Linked DNA regions of Homo sapiens: regions 2, 3, 4 and 5 are each linked to region 1. The links are contacts of gene promoters, found by promoter capture Hi-C in human tissues and cell types (Jung and others, 2019). All regions are on one chromosome and are shown on one strand. Each heading gives the region's core, a stretch centred on a gene start or on the middle of the fragment in contact. The rest is flanking DNA. Distances are from core to core; before and after follow the strand shown.

Evidence for each region. The method cuts DNA at HindIII sites, captures the fragments that hold promoters and counts their contacts. A contact is called where the count stands out against the background at its distance.
Region 2: a contact is called between a fragment that was not itself captured here and the fragment with the promoter of KCNRG in region 1, in 1 of the 25 tissues and cell types used here (dorsolateral prefrontal cortex).
Region 3: a fragment that was not itself captured here is called in contact with the fragment with the promoter of KCNRG in region 1 in 1 of the 25 tissues and cell types used here (dorsolateral prefrontal cortex).
Region 4: a contact is called between a fragment that was not itself captured here and the fragment with the promoter of KCNRG in region 1, in 1 of the 25 tissues and cell types used here (hippocampus).
Region 5: a contact is called between a fragment that was not itself captured here and the fragment with the promoter of KCNRG in region 1, in 1 of the 25 tissues and cell types used here (H1 embryonic stem cells).

The regions. Positions count from the first base shown.
Region 1 is chr13:50,013,693-50,017,002 of GRCh38, reverse strand. KCNRG (potassium channel regulator) reads right to left here and starts at 1,559. Exons shown (of 2, transcript NM_173605.2): 1 at 932-1,559. The coding sequence starts at 1,509. It overlaps TRIM13 (tripartite motif containing 13), which reads right to left. Exons shown (of 2, transcript NM_213590.3): 2 at 1-3,310. All of the region lies in intron 10 of DLEU2 (deleted in lymphocytic leukemia 2), which reads left to right. The HindIII fragment of the contact is 16,932 bases long and covers 1-3,310 here.
Region 2 is chr13:50,501,810-50,505,119 of GRCh38, reverse strand. All of the region lies in intron 5 of DLEU1 (deleted in lymphocytic leukemia 1), which reads right to left. Among named protein-coding and RNA genes, the nearest start is that of DLEU1-AS1, 24 kb to the left of the region's middle. The HindIII fragment of the contact is 5,430 bases long and covers 1-3,310 here.
Region 3 is chr13:50,436,291-50,439,600 of GRCh38, reverse strand. The region is part of intron 4 of DLEU1 (deleted in lymphocytic leukemia 1); the gene reads right to left. Among named protein-coding and RNA genes, the nearest start is that of DLEU1-AS1, 90 kb to the left of the region's middle. The HindIII fragment of the contact is 4,234 bases long and covers 1-3,310 here.
Region 4 is chr13:50,388,185-50,391,494 of GRCh38, reverse strand. DLEU1 (deleted in lymphocytic leukemia 1) reads right to left here. Exons shown (of 7, transcript NR_109974.1): 3 at 1,204-1,297. Among named protein-coding and RNA genes, the nearest start is that of DLEU1-AS1, 140 kb to the left of the region's middle. The HindIII fragment of the contact is 3,939 bases long and covers 1-3,310 here.
Region 5 is chr13:50,369,109-50,372,418 of GRCh38, reverse strand. All of the region lies in intron 2 of DLEU1 (deleted in lymphocytic leukemia 1), which reads right to left. Among named protein-coding and RNA genes, the nearest start is that of DLEU1-AS1, 160 kb to the left of the region's middle. The HindIII fragment of the contact is 3,571 bases long and covers 8-3,310 here.

The DNA of each region.
Region 1 (3,310 bases), core at 310-2,809:
TAGTGTCCTCCAGTTGGTAAGCAAGACCAAGGAGTGTGTCGCTAAGAGAGAGAGACACTGGTATCCTTCCTGTTGGCTACTGCTCAAGTTAAGAAAATATCTTAAAATACGCCTACCTTTACCAAAAAAAAAAAAAAAAGTATATTTTAAATGATACCAATAAAGAACACATGCAGGCTTTTCTTTTCCTCCTAAAAATTAAAGCCAGCTTTCACAGTTGGTAAAATAATGGTAGGACAGCATTAAGACATTTTACGGGGGGAAAAATGTTTGTGACAGCAGAGTGGAAATCAGCGTTAGGATCCAGCCAAGAACAACAGAGGGAGTAAGTGAAGAATTGACTCAGGAGCAACTATCCTTAACATACTGACAGCCTATCCCAATATTTTGAGTTGTTTAAGAGCCAAGGCTGTAACAGGATACCAAATTTGCCATGAGATATATCTGTCTTTAAGGGTGTTTAAAAATAAAGTCAGCTGAAGGAAAAACAGTAGTTGAATCATAAAACTGAAAGAACAACTTATATAGTGTGTAAGGAACTCAAGAGAAACCAGTGAGCGAGCCTTTATGTGAACCACTGAAACAATCTCTTAAAAATAAGGCAATTCTTTTCTAAGTCAAATTCATTAGCAATGGAACATAATCTACAAAATTATTTTCTCCCATGATTTGAATGTCCATAGTCTCAGTTTTTTCTGGGCAGTCTTCATTTATTCCTTTTGTCCCACCTAATAATAGCCCCTTTCACTCTAAAAAGTATCCCAGTTTGGAAAATAATTATTTGGTCATTCTACCCAACTCCACTGGTTACCCCAAAACATTATTTTGAATAATCATCTTTTCCAGAAGTTACAGGCCTGAGGAACTTCAAGTTTTTAGAGAAAACATCACAAACTGGTATACAAGAGAAATACTGCAAAGTACAAAATACCTGACTCCAGTTTGGTTATCAGTAGTGCTGTCAGAACCACACTGGAAAACCAGGTCATGGTAAGAAGGTCTTTGTGGAGGCAGTGGAAGTAAGGTCATCTGAGGAGGGAAAAAGTTACCATTCCAGGTCGGCGCTGAAGGTTGTTCTGTAAACACTGTAATCCTCCCTGTTAGCATCTCAATTGTTTTGCTGCAAGAGCCAAACACCCTGAAAAAAGCTTGAGTGTTCCGGCTTAGGAAATGTACCTCCACAAGAGCAGGTCTTGGCTGTAGCAGGTATGGGTTTAAGAGATCAACTAGAGAACGAAGTTCATAGAAAAGAGCCTCTCTCTGAAGCCTAAGATAGTCTGAAAATTCAGTGGGTAATAAAAGCTGGTGAGTTCTCAAAAAATCTAAGATGAAACTAAACAAATCACCATCTCTGTCTACAAAAATCTGGCCACCAACCATCTTGAATTCTTGGTCTCTGCCATCTAACATGCGTGCCAAACGAGAAGCAGGAAACTGCTTTATCGTAGAAAACCTTGTCGTGAATATCTTCCCTCCCACATTCAAAGTGACCAGTTCCTGACTACTCATTCTTCCCTCACTTCAAACTAGAGGCTACCATCAGCCACACTTAGGAAATCAACCTATAACCATAAATGTTGCTAGTTATACATGATTATGCAGTGGAGGGGAGGGAAGAATAACAAAAACCAGACTTAGATTCCCAGGAAACTACTGTAAGGTAAATAGTGTATCCATGGCTGTGTTTGCAAATTCGAGTTGCCTGGGAACTTGCAGTATACAAAATGAAAAAGCAACAGATGAGGAACTAAATAGCTTAAGGAAAACTGCCAATATATCTGAAGATAGACATCAAATAGATCCCTTTCCTGTCTTACATTTAAAAACTTATCCATGAAAACCTAGTAAAACTATATATATATATATATATATATATATATATATATATATATATATATATATATATATTTTTTTTTTTTTTTTTTTTATTACTGGGAGGGGAAAAGCATTCTCCCTCCCCATACCTGTCTACCACGCAGAGGCTAGACTTAAACGTTTTTCTTAATTTCTTATGATCTCCTTAGAAATTTAGTGGCTAAATCATGAATTACATGTTAGGAATGAGACAGCCTGGCAAGCTCAATTTGACTATTCTCATAGCTAGAAGGAAATCATTTCTTCTGTGCTTTAAATTTAGTTGCCACCTTTTATCCTGTCCCCATTTTCATTACCTCCTCTCAACCAAATTAGAGGAGGACTGAGGTAAAGAACTCTTATTTTCAGAAAGTCTATTCCACTTAATGGGCTTTCAAGGAATATCTTACTCTATGACACAAATAAGGCAGACTAGAGAGCAGTTATAAGGTTACTTCTTTGTTATATGAATTCTAAGCAAGGTGTTTATTCCATGAGAGGGTATCTTTATCTCTTGTGAGCAGACAGAACAGCATTAGTGTTCAGCTGATTACTTTGTAATAGCTGACAGACTGTTTTATCTGTTGTCAAATTAGTCTTAACTACACTAAACATTCTTTCTGTAAGCAAGTGGATTGGTTTGGTTGTACACTTGCCATCTTTCGAACAAAACAACACATAGCTGCCAGAAAAAAGGTAGTCTTCCCATTTCCTGCTCTTGCCATGTGTTCTATATATACATATATATGTATATATATGTATGTGTACATATGTGTGTGTGTGTGTGTATATATATATATATATTTTTTTTTTTTTTTTTTTTTTTTTTTTTTTTGGTAGAGACTGGGTCTTGCTATGTTTACGAAGCTGGTTTCGAACTGGAACTCCTAGCCTCAAATAATCCTCCCACATCACTGTCCTAGAATGCTGAGATTATAGACATGAGCCACCCTGCCCAGCCAGCTGATCCTTTTTTTTAACCTATCTATGCTTTTGCTTGCATAGCCACTTAACATTTCTAGTTGATCATCTTTGGTGAAAACTACAAAAACAAAGGAGAAAAGGGCAGATTGAAAGCTCCACTCTCCTAAAAATGTAAACTTATCACAAGAAAATGCCAGGTTTTGTATGTACCATTCACATTTTGGTGATAATTAACTCTCTGTAGAAAATTTTGGAAATCTAATTAATTAGTACCTTCAATACCTTTAGTTGTCTCCCACACACGCGTGTGTGTGTGAAATCTTCTACAATATCTTCCCTTTTTTAGACCATGTTCACTGTCAAAAAGGTGCTTTAAGAGCAGTCTTTGGCTGGGCACGGTGGCTCACACCTGTAATCCCAGCACTTTGGGAGGCCGAGGCAGGCGGATCACGAGGTCAGGAGATCAAGACCATCTTGGCTAACAGGATGGTCTTAAGGGACAGTGAAACCCTGTCTCAACTAAAAATACAAA
Region 2 (3,310 bases), core at 233-2,732, 490 kb before region 1:
CTGGCACAAGACAGGGATGCCCTCTCTCACCACTCCTATTCAACATAGTGTTGGAAGTTCTGGCCAGGGCAATCAGGCAGGAGAAGGAAATAAAGGGTATTCAATTAGGAAAAGAGGAAGTCAAATTGTCCTTGTTTGCAGATGACGTGATTGTATATCTAGAAAACCCCATCATCTCAGCCCAAAATCTCCTTAAGCTGATAAGCAACTTCAGCAAAGTCTCAGGATACAAAATCAATGTGCAAAAATCACAAGCATTCTTATACACCAATAACAGACAAACAGAGAGCCAAATCATGAGTGAACTCCCATTCACAATTGCTTCAAAGAGAATAAAATACCTAGGAATCCAACTTACAAGGGATGTGAAGGACCTCTTCAAGGAGAACAACAAATCACTGCTCAATGAAATAAAACAGGATACAAACAAATGGAAGAACCTTCCATGCTCATGGGTAGGAAGAATCAATATCGTGAAAATGGCCATACTGCCCAAGGTAATTTATAGATTCAATGCCATCCCCATCAAGCTACCAATGACTTTCTTCACAGAATTGGAAAAAGCTACTTTAAAGTTCATATGGAACCAAAAAAGAGCCCGCATTGCCAAGTCAATCCTAAGCCAAAAGAACAAAGCTGGAGGCATCACGATACCTGACTTCAAACTATACTACAAGGATACAGTAACCAAAACAGCATGGTACTGGTACCAAAACAGAGATCTAGACCAATGGAACAGAACAGAGCCCTCGGAAATAATGCCACATATCTACAACCATCTGATCTTTGACAAACCTGACAAAAGCAAGAAATGGGGATATGATTCCCTATTTAATAAATGGTGCTGGGAAAACTGGCCAGCCATATGTAGAAAGCTGAAACTGGATCCCTTCCTTACACTTTATACAAAAATTAATTCAAGATGGATTAAAGACTTAAATGTTAGACATAAAACCATAAAAGCCCTAGAAGAAAACCTAGGCAATACCATTCAGGACATAGACATGGGCAAGGACTTCATGTCTAAAACACCAAAAGCAATGGCAGCAAAAGCCAAAATTGACAAATGGGATCTAATTAAACTAAAGAGCTTCTGCACAGCAAAAGAAACTACCATCAGAGTGAATAGGCAACCTACAGAATGGGAGAAAATTTTTGCAATCTACTCATCTGACAAAGGGCTAATATCCAGAATCTACAATGAACTCAAACAAATTTACAAGAAAAAAACAAACAACCCCATCAAAAAGTGGACGAAGGATATGAACAGACACTTCTCAAAAGAAGACTTTTACGCAGCCCAAAGACACATGAAAAAATGTTCATCATCACTGGCCATCAGAGAAATGCAAATCAAAACCACAGTGAGATACCATCTCACACCAGTTAGAATGGCGATCATTAAAAAGTCAGGAAACAACAGGTGCTGGAGAGGATGTGGAAAATAGGAACACTTTTACACTGTTGGTGGGACTGTAAACTAGTTCAACCATTGTGGAAGTCAGTGTGGCGATTCCTCAGGGATCTAGGACTAGAAATACCATTTGACCCAGCAATCCCATTACTGGGTATATACCCAAAGGATTATAAATCATGCTGCTATAAAGACACATGCACATGTATGTTTATTGTGGTGCTATTCACAATAGCAAAGACTTGGAACCATGCCAAATGTCCAACAATGTTAGACTGGATTAAGAAAATGTGGCATATATACACCATGGAATACTATGCAGCCATAAAAAAGGATGAGTTCATGTCCTGTGTAGGGACATGGATGAAGCTGGAAACCATCATTCTCAGCAAACTATGGCAAGGACAAAAAACCAAACACCACATGTTCTCACTCATAGGTGGGAATTGAACAATGAGAACACATGGACACAGGAAGGGGAACATCACACACCAGGGCCTGTTGTGGAGTGGGGGGAGGGGGGGAGGGATAGCATGAGACGATATACCTAATGTTAAATGACGAGTTAATGGGTGCAGCACACCAACATGGCACATGTATACATATGTAACTAACCTGCACGTTGTGCACATGTACCCTAACACTTAAAGTATTAAAAAAAGTTTTATAGTAAATATATTATTTTTCTGATAATAGTAAGATAGTTAAACTATTATATATGTAATACTATTATATGTAGTAATATATATATACTTGGTAGAATATTATGGAGTCATTAAAAAGAATGTTATACAAGAATTTATGATAATATTAAGAAATACTTACGTTAAAAGAGTAGATGTTAAATTATATATATGGTAGGATGCCAAATTATAAATTGAATAATAACTACACCTGGAAAAAGACAGGATGAAAAGACACTAAAATATTAGTATCTTTGAATAGTGATAGTACGGACATTATTGATATTACCTATAATAAACATGTACTATTTATAATGCAAAGAATGACCTTATTTTCACACTAAAAGAAATGAGAAAAAATATACTTCTCATTCCATTGACCCAATTCTCACCTAAGCCTCAATTGTTCACTAGTTGGTTTGTATTTAATAAACACAATTTTTTTGTTCATTTAAGGGCATTATTTTAGAACTTAAATTATTGGCAAACATGTCTCCCAAAAACTGTAGCAAGGAGACCAGGTTAACAAATAAGCAATCCTAATTTCTTACTGGCTTAACAGAATAAGAAAGAATTTTAAAGAATGTATCCCCCCATCCCTTCCCGTTCCCCAAGGAGCTAAATAGGGCTTTAGATCCCTGGGGTTTCCCTCCCTTGGAAAGGGACAATCAAAATGTGACTTCTTCTTCTTATCATTCTTGAAAATGCAGGATATAGAGGTAAACAATTGAATTCTCCAAGCAAAGAGTAGAGAGATCGATGTGACACCAATCCAAGAAAGCCAATATAACACAAAACAAATTAATACTAATTTTGTATCATTGAACACCCTTTAAATATTCAAAATTTCCAGGTAATCTTGAAAATGCCTTTGTACTATTTGTTTCAATCAGGATCTAAACAATACTCATTATCTGATTTGGTTATATGTCTCTTAAACCTAAAAGCAGAATATTCAAAATGACACAAATGCCCAATAATAGGAAAATACTTAAAGAAATTATGTCATCACCATGGAAAGAAGAAATACACAATTGGTAGAAAAAAATAATAATTGTTTTAAAAACTATTTACTAGTATGGGGAAATGCTCCTGAGATGAAATTAAATAATAAAAACGTCGTGCTGTTATTTCCATGGGATAAGTTTCTAGATATGAAATTTCTGTGTCAAAATTTATATATGCAATTCCAGCAAAAGTGTATGAAAGTTCT
Region 3 (3,310 bases), core at 343-2,842, 420 kb before region 1:
TTGTGCTGATCTTATAGGTGTATTGGGGACTGAGAAATCTGATATCTAATTAGCACTAGTATTTATGCATTGCTCAAGATTAGATCTTAAACTCATCCTTAATGCCTCTTTCTCACACTCTTCTTTTAATTGACAATTCCTGTCAGCTCTGCCTTCAAAATTTATCTCAAATCCAGCTCTTTTTCTCCCCTTCACCACTTGCACCTTAGCTGGAGCCACCATCATCTTTCTCTTAGACTGCTGAACTAGTTTTGGTCCTGCTTCTGCTCCTGCAAAATATTCTGCACAGAGTGGTCAAAGTGATCCTTTTAGAACCTAAGTCAGATAGTGTCACTCCACTGCTCAAATTCTCCAACAGCTGCCCATCTCACTCAGAATGAAATCCAAAGTCATGACCACAGCCCAAAAGGCTCTAGTACATCTGACCCCTGGTTACCTCTCACACCTCAATTCTTACCTGTCTTTAAGTCCTTCGTAGACATGACCACCAAAATGCTGCTGAGCAATCACAATAACACCCCTTGCCCCATTCATTTCCCTTCTCTCACAATTACTTCTCCTCTCTCCTCAAAGTCCTCTCTCATTCCTGCTCCCAGATGATGCTCTTATTCCTTGTTGTGCTAAGAAAGCTTTAGAAGAGTCCACATGCCCCTATCTCTATATTTACCCACCTACCAGCAATTAGAAGAGTCCACATGGTCCCATCTCTATACTTACCCATCTACCAGCGTCCATGCCCATTGATTTGCCCTCCTCATGGATACACTGGCCGTGCTTGTATTTAAGGCCAATCTCTCTTCTCATGCATCAGATCCCTCCTCTCTAACCTTCATCAATTCTCTCCTCTCACTCCTGTATCAATTTTTCCCTCTCCCCTGGATTATTCTCATCAGCATACAAACATCACATGATTTCTCCCTTCTTAAAAGTAAAAGAGCTCTCTCAACTTTGCTTCTGATTTGTACCACCTTACTGCAGCAAAACTTCTCTTAAAAAAATAATCTTTACTTTCTCTCCTCCCATTCACTCTTGATCCCACTACACTTACTCAATGCAAATCTAAACCCAGTGGTCAGTTCTCAGACTGCACCTCGTGTGACCCACCAGCATCTTTTGGCATAGTCCATCACTCCCTCCTCCACACATTTTCTCTGCCTGGCCTCCAGGATGCCACAAAATTCAGGTGTTGCTCCTAGTCAGGACTTACTCTCTTCTGCTCCCCTCACCCTATTCCCACCCCAGAACTCAGCTTCTCTGGCCGCATCTCCTATCAGGATCTCCTCATTCTCTATCACTAGTAACACAAGTTGGCCTCTTTGCTGTTCCTCAAATAAGTCAGTTTAAAAGGCCTCATCCTTGCTCTCATCTCTGCCTGGAATGCTCTTTCCTCAGCTCCTTTAAGTTTTTGTTCAAATGTCACATAATCAATAACATCCTCCCTGACTACCATATTTAATATTGCAATATCTACCAACCCTTAAACTTCCTACTCCCATTTATTTCCTTCATGGCATTTACCACTTTCTAATATACTACAACATTTATTTATTCAATTTAAGTCTTCCCTTTGGCCAGAATATGGTCACCTTGTCATTCAAAAGTTATTTGATGCAGATTTTTTATTCTAGACACCTGGCCTGTTAACCATGTAGCAAATCATTGTCAAATTAATGAAGCTTTGGCTTCTAGCATATGAGTTAAAATAAATATCACTATTGGAGACATTATATCAAAAAGCTGAGACATACTTAGGACCCCAAATTAATGAACAAAATATTCAATAATAAACAATATTAAGTTCCCAGAAGATTGCTCAGAGCTGGCTTGGCCGACATAGAGAACTGTTTCCATAGCCATGGTGGGAAATACTAATCTTGAAAAGAGATGCCTCTCAAATCTTTAAGTGAGCCAGTACCCTAGGTAACTAAATGAGTAGAGAAAGTTAGGTTCTATCTTACACATAAGATTATCCAGTTGCCAGCCCTCAAATACTGACACCCCATGAGCAGATTGCTCTTAAATTCTTCAGGTCTTCGAGTAGACATAATCATTTTACAGAAGCCCAACTCAGAAACAATTATACTGCAACATAAGCAGTAGAACCATTTCATGCCAAGCTAATGACTCTGGGACATGCAAGGCATGACTCTCTGTACAAATCCACTTTAGAGCAGAGGTCAAAACCATTAAACTAATGGTGAACTTGAGTCCCTGGGCTCTGAGTGCCCCATGACTCCAGGGGATTGAGATTTGTAAGAAAAATACTAAACATAGAGCTCTGTATAAACACTCTAAAGGATTCTTTATACAAATGCCTTTTTGTCTAAAATCAAAACTCTAGAAAATAGAACATAAGTTTCTACATTTAAATTGTTAAAAATCATTAAAAAGACATTCAAGAGTTAAAGAAAAAGAAAAAAATTCTCAGCATGAAGTATGAAGATATCGCTGCTTGACTTTAATAAAAGTTCTATTAAATCTGTTCTTTTCTGTTTAAAATGCTCATTATAAAGCTGTAGTCCCTTTACATTTTCTTAAAAATTCAAGCTTTGCAACTTCTGAGAGCTTTGGTGTTAGTGTGATGAGCTACCTTCCCCCTCCCCAAGAAATGTCCTTATTGAGACTGAGTTTCCTTGGGGATGGTGGGGGGAGGGGGTGGTGAGTGACCTGGCCATATGATGTCAACATACTACCACAGAAGACAGAGATGAAAAACCATGTTCATGGACTTTTAAATTTAAATTTAAATCTGTAAAATCCTTATAACAAAAAACACTCCTACACAGAAACTAGCTAGCTGTTCACCAAGCATTTTCTATTCTTGCCCCAGTTTCCCAGCCTCCCTTGAAGTCAGCCATAACTGAAGTCCAGCCAATGAAATATGAACAGAAGTGATGTATACCATCCCCAGGACTTAGCCTATAAAAAATTTCTGGAACAATGTCAGCTTGATGTAGATGGGTGTGGCAACCTTAGAAGCCCTAGGTCAAAAATGGCAGAGCCAGAGATGGAAGAAGCCCAATAAGGAGCCATAAATGACTACTTGGAAGATAATTGCCATTGAAAGAGAACCAATATTGGACATTACATAGATGTTAACATAATTTTATTGGCTAGGCATGGTGGCTCATGCTTATAATTCCAGCCCTTTGGGAGGCTGAGGTGGGCAGATAGCTTGAGCCCAGGAGTTTGAGACCAACCTGGGCAATATGGCAAAACCCTGTCTCTATAAAAAATACAAAAATTAGCTGGGCATAGTGGCATGTGCCTATAGTCCCAGCTACTCAGGAGGCTGAGGTGGGAGGATTGC
Region 4 (3,310 bases), core at 523-3,022, 370 kb before region 1:
TTAAACTGCATCTCTTATAACCAATATAGTTCCTCTAATGTTGTTTTATATTTTGTTGATATCTTTTCCTACCTTAATTAGTTCTACTCTTCTACTGCATTGGGATTTAACTTATTCTAATCTTTTGGCTTTTTAAGGTAGCCTTAGGTCATTAATTTAGACTTTTCTTCTTTTCTAATACAAGCACATAAAAATATAAATGTTCCTTTAATTACTGTAGTAACAGTTGCTTTAAAGTCTACATCTATTAATTCCAATATCTAGGTCATCTCAAGATTGATCTTCATTGATTATATTTTCTCTTCAGAATAGGTCAGGAATCTGGTTCCTGCTCTTTGTATGTTGGGTAATTCTGGATGGTTTCCTGGACACTGGGAATGTTTTGTTAGGGAGATTCTGCATTTCTGTTACACTTCTCCCGTCGAGTGTGATGTTTTTGTTTTGACAAAACTGCAAACTCTGTCTTTTGGGCAGTAGCTCTTATCTCAGTTAGGTCATTGACCCTTTACTGAGCTGCTTGCAGTGTGCCACATGCACACAAAGTTTGGGACTCAGCCAGAAAGTTGGGCACCTGATGCATGGAATTTGGGGCTCCCCTCTCTGGCACTCTTCTTTTAGAGGTTTCCTCTCACTTTCTTCTGGCTCTGGCTGCTCTCAACTTTTTCTTCTAGTTCGTCAGGCCAGAAAGACTATGGGCATTGTCTAAGGCCTGCTCTTAAGCTAAAAACCATAAATAGGGGAAGACACACCTTGTCTTATCCTTTCACACATGTGCCAACTAATCCCCATAATCTGCTTACAGTTACTCACCTTCAGATAGTTGTTCTTTGTATTGTTTATCTGTGGTCAGTCTGGTAGCAATTTAGCCATCCCAGAAGTGAAAATAAGTATGCACATTTTAAAGTAACAATTAGGCATAAGACATTTAAGTGTGTGAGTTAACTTTTTGTGTTCATTTTTCCACAATAAGAAGACTTAGAGGAGCAAAAGAACACAAGACAGCTTGGAAGTGGAGAATAAGTTTCTGGAAATTGAGAAAACACAGAAAAGGAGGTAGAGGCACCACGACAGCATAATTATGGGCTGAGTTGATTCTCGGTCCAGTCTGGCAAGAGTGATGAAGGTTACTGGTAAACATGTGGAGAGCCACATGCTGTGCTCCATACCTGCTCTTTGTCCCCCAGCCCCACTCTCCACTCTCACCTGCTGTCTGCCCTGGAGGCCAATCTATATGAAAACTGTGTCAAGGGTTCCCTTTTCCTCTGGCTTCCATTTGCATTCAACCAGTGGAGAATACCTGCAGGAGATTAAAGGGAGGGAGGAAAGTGAGGTCAGGATATTTTTCCCCCAAGATCTCTCCCTGGTAGGTTTCTGTGACTTGATTGCATTCCTCCACCAAAGGCCACATTAACTATCAGGCAGCCCTCTCAAAAACCTCTCTAGGTGCTGGTAAACACTCCTTTCCTTCCACCCTTCTGGCTTAGTGTTGGTAATGGCCCTCTACTGGGGCGCTGCAACATCCCTTGTTGCTTTTCCTAAATCCTGCGCACACTTTTGTAAACAGTTCCTTTATTAAACTCTTCCCAGCATGAGCGCACCATCTGTTTCCTGCCAGGATCCTGATGGATAGAGCACGCTCAGAAAAACAACTTTAACAGGGCCTTAGAAACAGGATGGTAAAATATCAGCCCACTGTCAAGGAGGGGAGAACACATTAAATACCTCCAAAATAATAACTCATAAGCTTTATTCACATGTATTGCCTAATTTAATGCATTTAACAACACTCAGATTACATAGGTAATGATATCATTTCCATTTAAAGTTGAGAAAATTGAGACTCTAAAGCAGGTGGGCCACTGGGATTCCCTGACCTTCTTTAGGCTATAAATCCTCTTATCTCCCCACTACCCCTAACCCATTTCATTCAGACAACACACACCACCAACGCTGAAATGTAGAGCTCTCCAACTTCTGGGGCAGCCAGGACATTTTTAAAGTCCTTGAAGCCCAGGAAGGGTGTGGTCATCCCAACTTTGCTCTGCTTCTGTTAAAATCCAAATGCTAGAAAAATAGTCCGTGGTAAATTCAGCCAGTTTGGAGACCTGAGCATATTGTTCAGAGACCCCTCTTGCATTTATTTTAAAGAAACTATTTTTAAAAACTAAAATGCAATATGGGAGTTGTAGTGTGTACAGCTCACTGAAGTATTCCTTAAACATCACTCCAGGGCTCCACAGGAGTTCCCAAGCTTCAGGTTGTGAAACTCATGATACAGAATTTAAGTCAGCAGAATAGATTAAGACCTCAGGCTCTGGGAATGGGCAGATCTGAGTTCCTTTACAACATTTGCTAGCAGCCATATTCTAGGCAAGCTGCAGAATTTTTCTTATCTTCAGTTTTCTCATCTGTAAAATGGAGATAATAATAATACCTACATCATAATGTTAAATAAATTAAATAAGCTCAGTCATTTTAAGTGCTTAATACAGAGCCTGGCTCACTATAATCACTCAATAAAATACAGCCAACATTAATATTCAGATTCAAATTCACAGCAAAGATTCATCTTATTATAATATGGCATGTAAATATTAAAAGAAAAATGTCTTTAAATCCTTCTGGACACATATTAAAGCTTCCCAATTGGGAATTTACAAAGAAATAGCCTTAAGAGTATCCAACATTGCTCCCATTTCCATTTCAATAAAAGACTCCAGAAGTTGCTGGTCCTCTAAATAAGCCTTGTCATTTCCTTAAGTAAACTTTCCATACCACTGGGTATAAAATGTAACAGAAAGCTATGTGCTCAATTTATTTTATAGTTTCTTACTTATTGTTTTCCATTTCCTGTTTCAAAGCTGTAAACGTTCCTTAAACTGCAGCTAAAATTACTATTGCCATTGAATTACCTAATTTCTTAGTGTAGAGTCTGGATTGGAGGGCACTCCACCCCCAGTGGGCTACAAGCGGCATGTTGCTAAGCAAGGGCTGTGCAGTTCACTCTTGCACGTGGTTCTGACTTTGCCATTTGATGCAGGTGGGTTCTTTCTGCAAATTGCTCATTAGAAAATCTGGATCCAGATTTTAACCATGGAAGTTATTCTAGAAATATTTAAGGACTGATTGATCCACCAGAAATGGGAACATTTTTACCATATTTGGTCATCGTTCACAGGGAGACCAGAGTTCTCCCTTGTAAAGGCTTTCAACCTATTAAATATTTTATCTCCAAATTCCAGTGAGTCTTTGGAAAAACCTCCAATCTATCCTTCCCCCTTCAGTCAAGGCCAGGATCATGGAGCCCTGC
Region 5 (3,310 bases), core at 544-3,043, 360 kb before region 1:
GCAGGGTGCCCAAGTCCAACTTTGACAAGAAGGGAAGCTTGGGCTTTGCTAGGACAGCAGGTCAGGAACCTTCCCGGGACATAACTCCTAAAGTGGGGCTTCCCAGGAATAGTGCTGGGGGCTTTAAAGAGACTTTCTCCCAAACCCAATCCAGAGGCTGAGGTTGATCTGCCCACCCCTGTGCTCTGCATACTGCAGATCCTAGAGCAATTTCTGCTAACAAAGCTAGTCCTGTGAGGAATCCAGCTGTGTCTTGCAAGCCATTTTCACAATATTATTTTTCAAGTCCCTTGTTGGATCTTAAGAGAGGAATTTCAGGGAAGGGAGAGGAAAGAGTGTCAAGGGTTTAAGTTCACACCTTATTATGCTTTTACTACTCTTCATAGTCACATTTTAACAATTCGTGGTAAGAAATAAATACTTTGGCTCTTGGCGGAATAATTCCAAGTTACTCTTCGCCGCTCAGCTCTCCCTGGCTCACGGGTCAAGCCTTTCTCTCCAATAGGGAGTCCTCCATTCTTCTCATCTCACACCTCAATTCCTAGAACAGCCTCCTCACCAATTTTCTTCCTTCATTCCTCCCACTCTACTCCATGCCACACATATCTGTCAGAATAATCTTCTAAGAATCCTACTTACATCATGAAACTAATTTAATTATTCCCGCTTCTCTCTCCCTCCCCACCTCTCCAGGCTCAGTCTGAGTTCTATCTCCTCCCTGAACTGTTGCGCAGTGGCCCCAGTCCCTAGAGACCTTTGCTCTTCAATGCTGCCATACCAGGGCTAATATTCATGGGGTACAGATTGTCCACTCCCACAGTGTGTTCTGATGGGATTGGCATCCATCGCAATCCAGTCTGATGCCTGTGCAGTACTGGCTGTTAGAAATTTTGACAGATATTTTGACTGTCTTCCTTGTCTACAGCATCTATTGTCTGGATCACTCATCTTGGTATAAACTACACAGCCTTGCTATTTAAATATTCCCAATGTGCATATGTTTTTACTTTCCTACCAGATTGTGATTCATTCTCTGAGGGCAGCCATTCTTGCACCCAATCCCCAGGAAGGAGCCCAGAAGCACGTGCCAAGCTGGTCCCTCCAACACTGGCTAGAGGAATCAATGGATGGAGTAAATAACTAATTTACAATAAAAATTTAAACACTGCACTTACTTCCCATCATCCAGCCTACAAATTTTAGAGCCTCCTGCCTTGCCTTAGTGTACCCACCTCCAACACACTCCACCTGTCTTCTGCCCTCTCCCTCTTACTGTTTATTATTCCCTGAATGTGCACGCCCCGCCTGGCTGTCTCCCTCACACACTGAAAATGAAGTCCCTCTGGATGCTGCCCAGTGACAGTCCCTCCTCCCCTCTGTGTGCTCTGGACTTCCTACACTGAAACTTGAAAGTTATTTCTGAGAGACTTTAAATTTCCACTCAAGATTCCAACAAGTCAGAGTGTTCTGGGCAAAGCATGGATGCCAAGGAAGATACCCCAGTTTCATGGCTGACAAGCTTTATTGACGACTTATTTTAACTCTAGCTGAAGAAGACCATGAAACTAACCACCCCGTTTAAAACTGAAAACACACTCTCCTTGCTCGCAGCCCTCCCAATCTTCTTCAATCTGTTCTGTTTCTATATCACTCATCTCCTTCTAATAGCTTATGATTTACATATTTAATCTGTTCACTGTTCATGTCCCTGAACTAAAACATGAGCTCCACAAGGGCAGAGATTTTTTAAATTGTGGTGAAATACACATAATATGAAATTTACTATTTTAACCATTTTTAAGTGTACAATTCAGTGGCATTGAGTACATTCACACTGTTGTGCAACCATCACCACTATACGTCTCCAGAACTCTTCATCTTCTCAAACTGAAGCTCTGTACCCGGTAAACACTAACTCCCCACTTCCCCTTTTTGCCAGCCCCTGGCAACCACTCTTCTACTTTCTCTATGAATTTGACTGGTCTAGGTACCTCATATAAGCAGAACCATATATTTGTCTTTTTGTAACTGGGTTATTTCACTTAACATAATGTCATCAAGGTTCAGCCATGTTATAGCATATGTCATAATTTCCTTCCTTCTGAAGACTTAATAATATTCCATGTGTGGTAAATGCATATAGGCTACATCTTATTTATCTATTCACCTGTTGACGGGTACTTGCATTGCTTCTACCTTTTGGTTAATGCTGCTATGAACATGAGTCTACAAATATCTCTTCAAGATCCTGCTTTCCATTCCTTTGGGTATATTTCCAGAAATGGAATCATTGGATCATATGGTAATTATATTTTTAATTTTCTGAGGATCTACCATACTGTTTCCCATAGTACCTGTGCCATTTTACATTCCCACCAACAGTGCACAAGCGTTTCAATTTCTCCACATCCTTGTCAACACTTGTTACTTTCTGAAATGGCAGGGATTTCTGTCTATTCTATTTGCTGGTGTATGCTAAGCATGAAGAACAGGGCTTGACATGAAGTCAGCACCTGATAAGTATTCATAGAATTCAACTGTAGAACTGGTGTTGACAAGTGGCCCAGGATGGCCGGGGTTTGAACCTTGGCTTACACACTCAGACACTCCACATGGACACATTATTTGGCCTCCCTGAAGTTCAGGTTGTCATTCATCTGCAACAGCACCTATCTTGAAGGGTGTTGTCAAAGCCCAATAAGATGAGAGATGTAAAGCTCCCTGCCCACTGTGTCTGATACAGGACTCTCTTGCACATTTCCTTCCTTCCACACTGATTCTCTTGAACAGCACATTAAGCTGACTTGGAAAAAGACTATCAGTAATCAAGTTTGGTTAGAGAGAAGTCATTGTCTTTTTTGGTTAAGTTTCATTTGATCACCTCTTGATTTGTGAATCTAAGAGAAATCCCATCGACCCACAACCTCCTACACTGCCTTTTTTCTTCTTCGTAGCACATATCATTACTTGAAAGTATATGCAATGTCTATTATTTTTATCTGTTTATCCATTTTCTCTACCGGAACACAAGCTTCAGGTAGGAAAGGTCTTTGTTTTTCTTGACTACTGCCACATCTACAAGGCCCAGAACAATGCCTGCAACATAAAAAGTCTCAAGAAATATTTGTTAAATGAAGAATTCATTTAAACAGTTACTAATCACCTGTACAGGTATAGGCACTATGCTTACTACTGGGCATCCTATATAAATAAAATACAATTCCTGCCCTCAAGGATCTCACAGTTTAATTAAAAGATGATTATAAACAAATTATTAAATATAGTTTGAGATGCACAGTAAAGGAGCAGG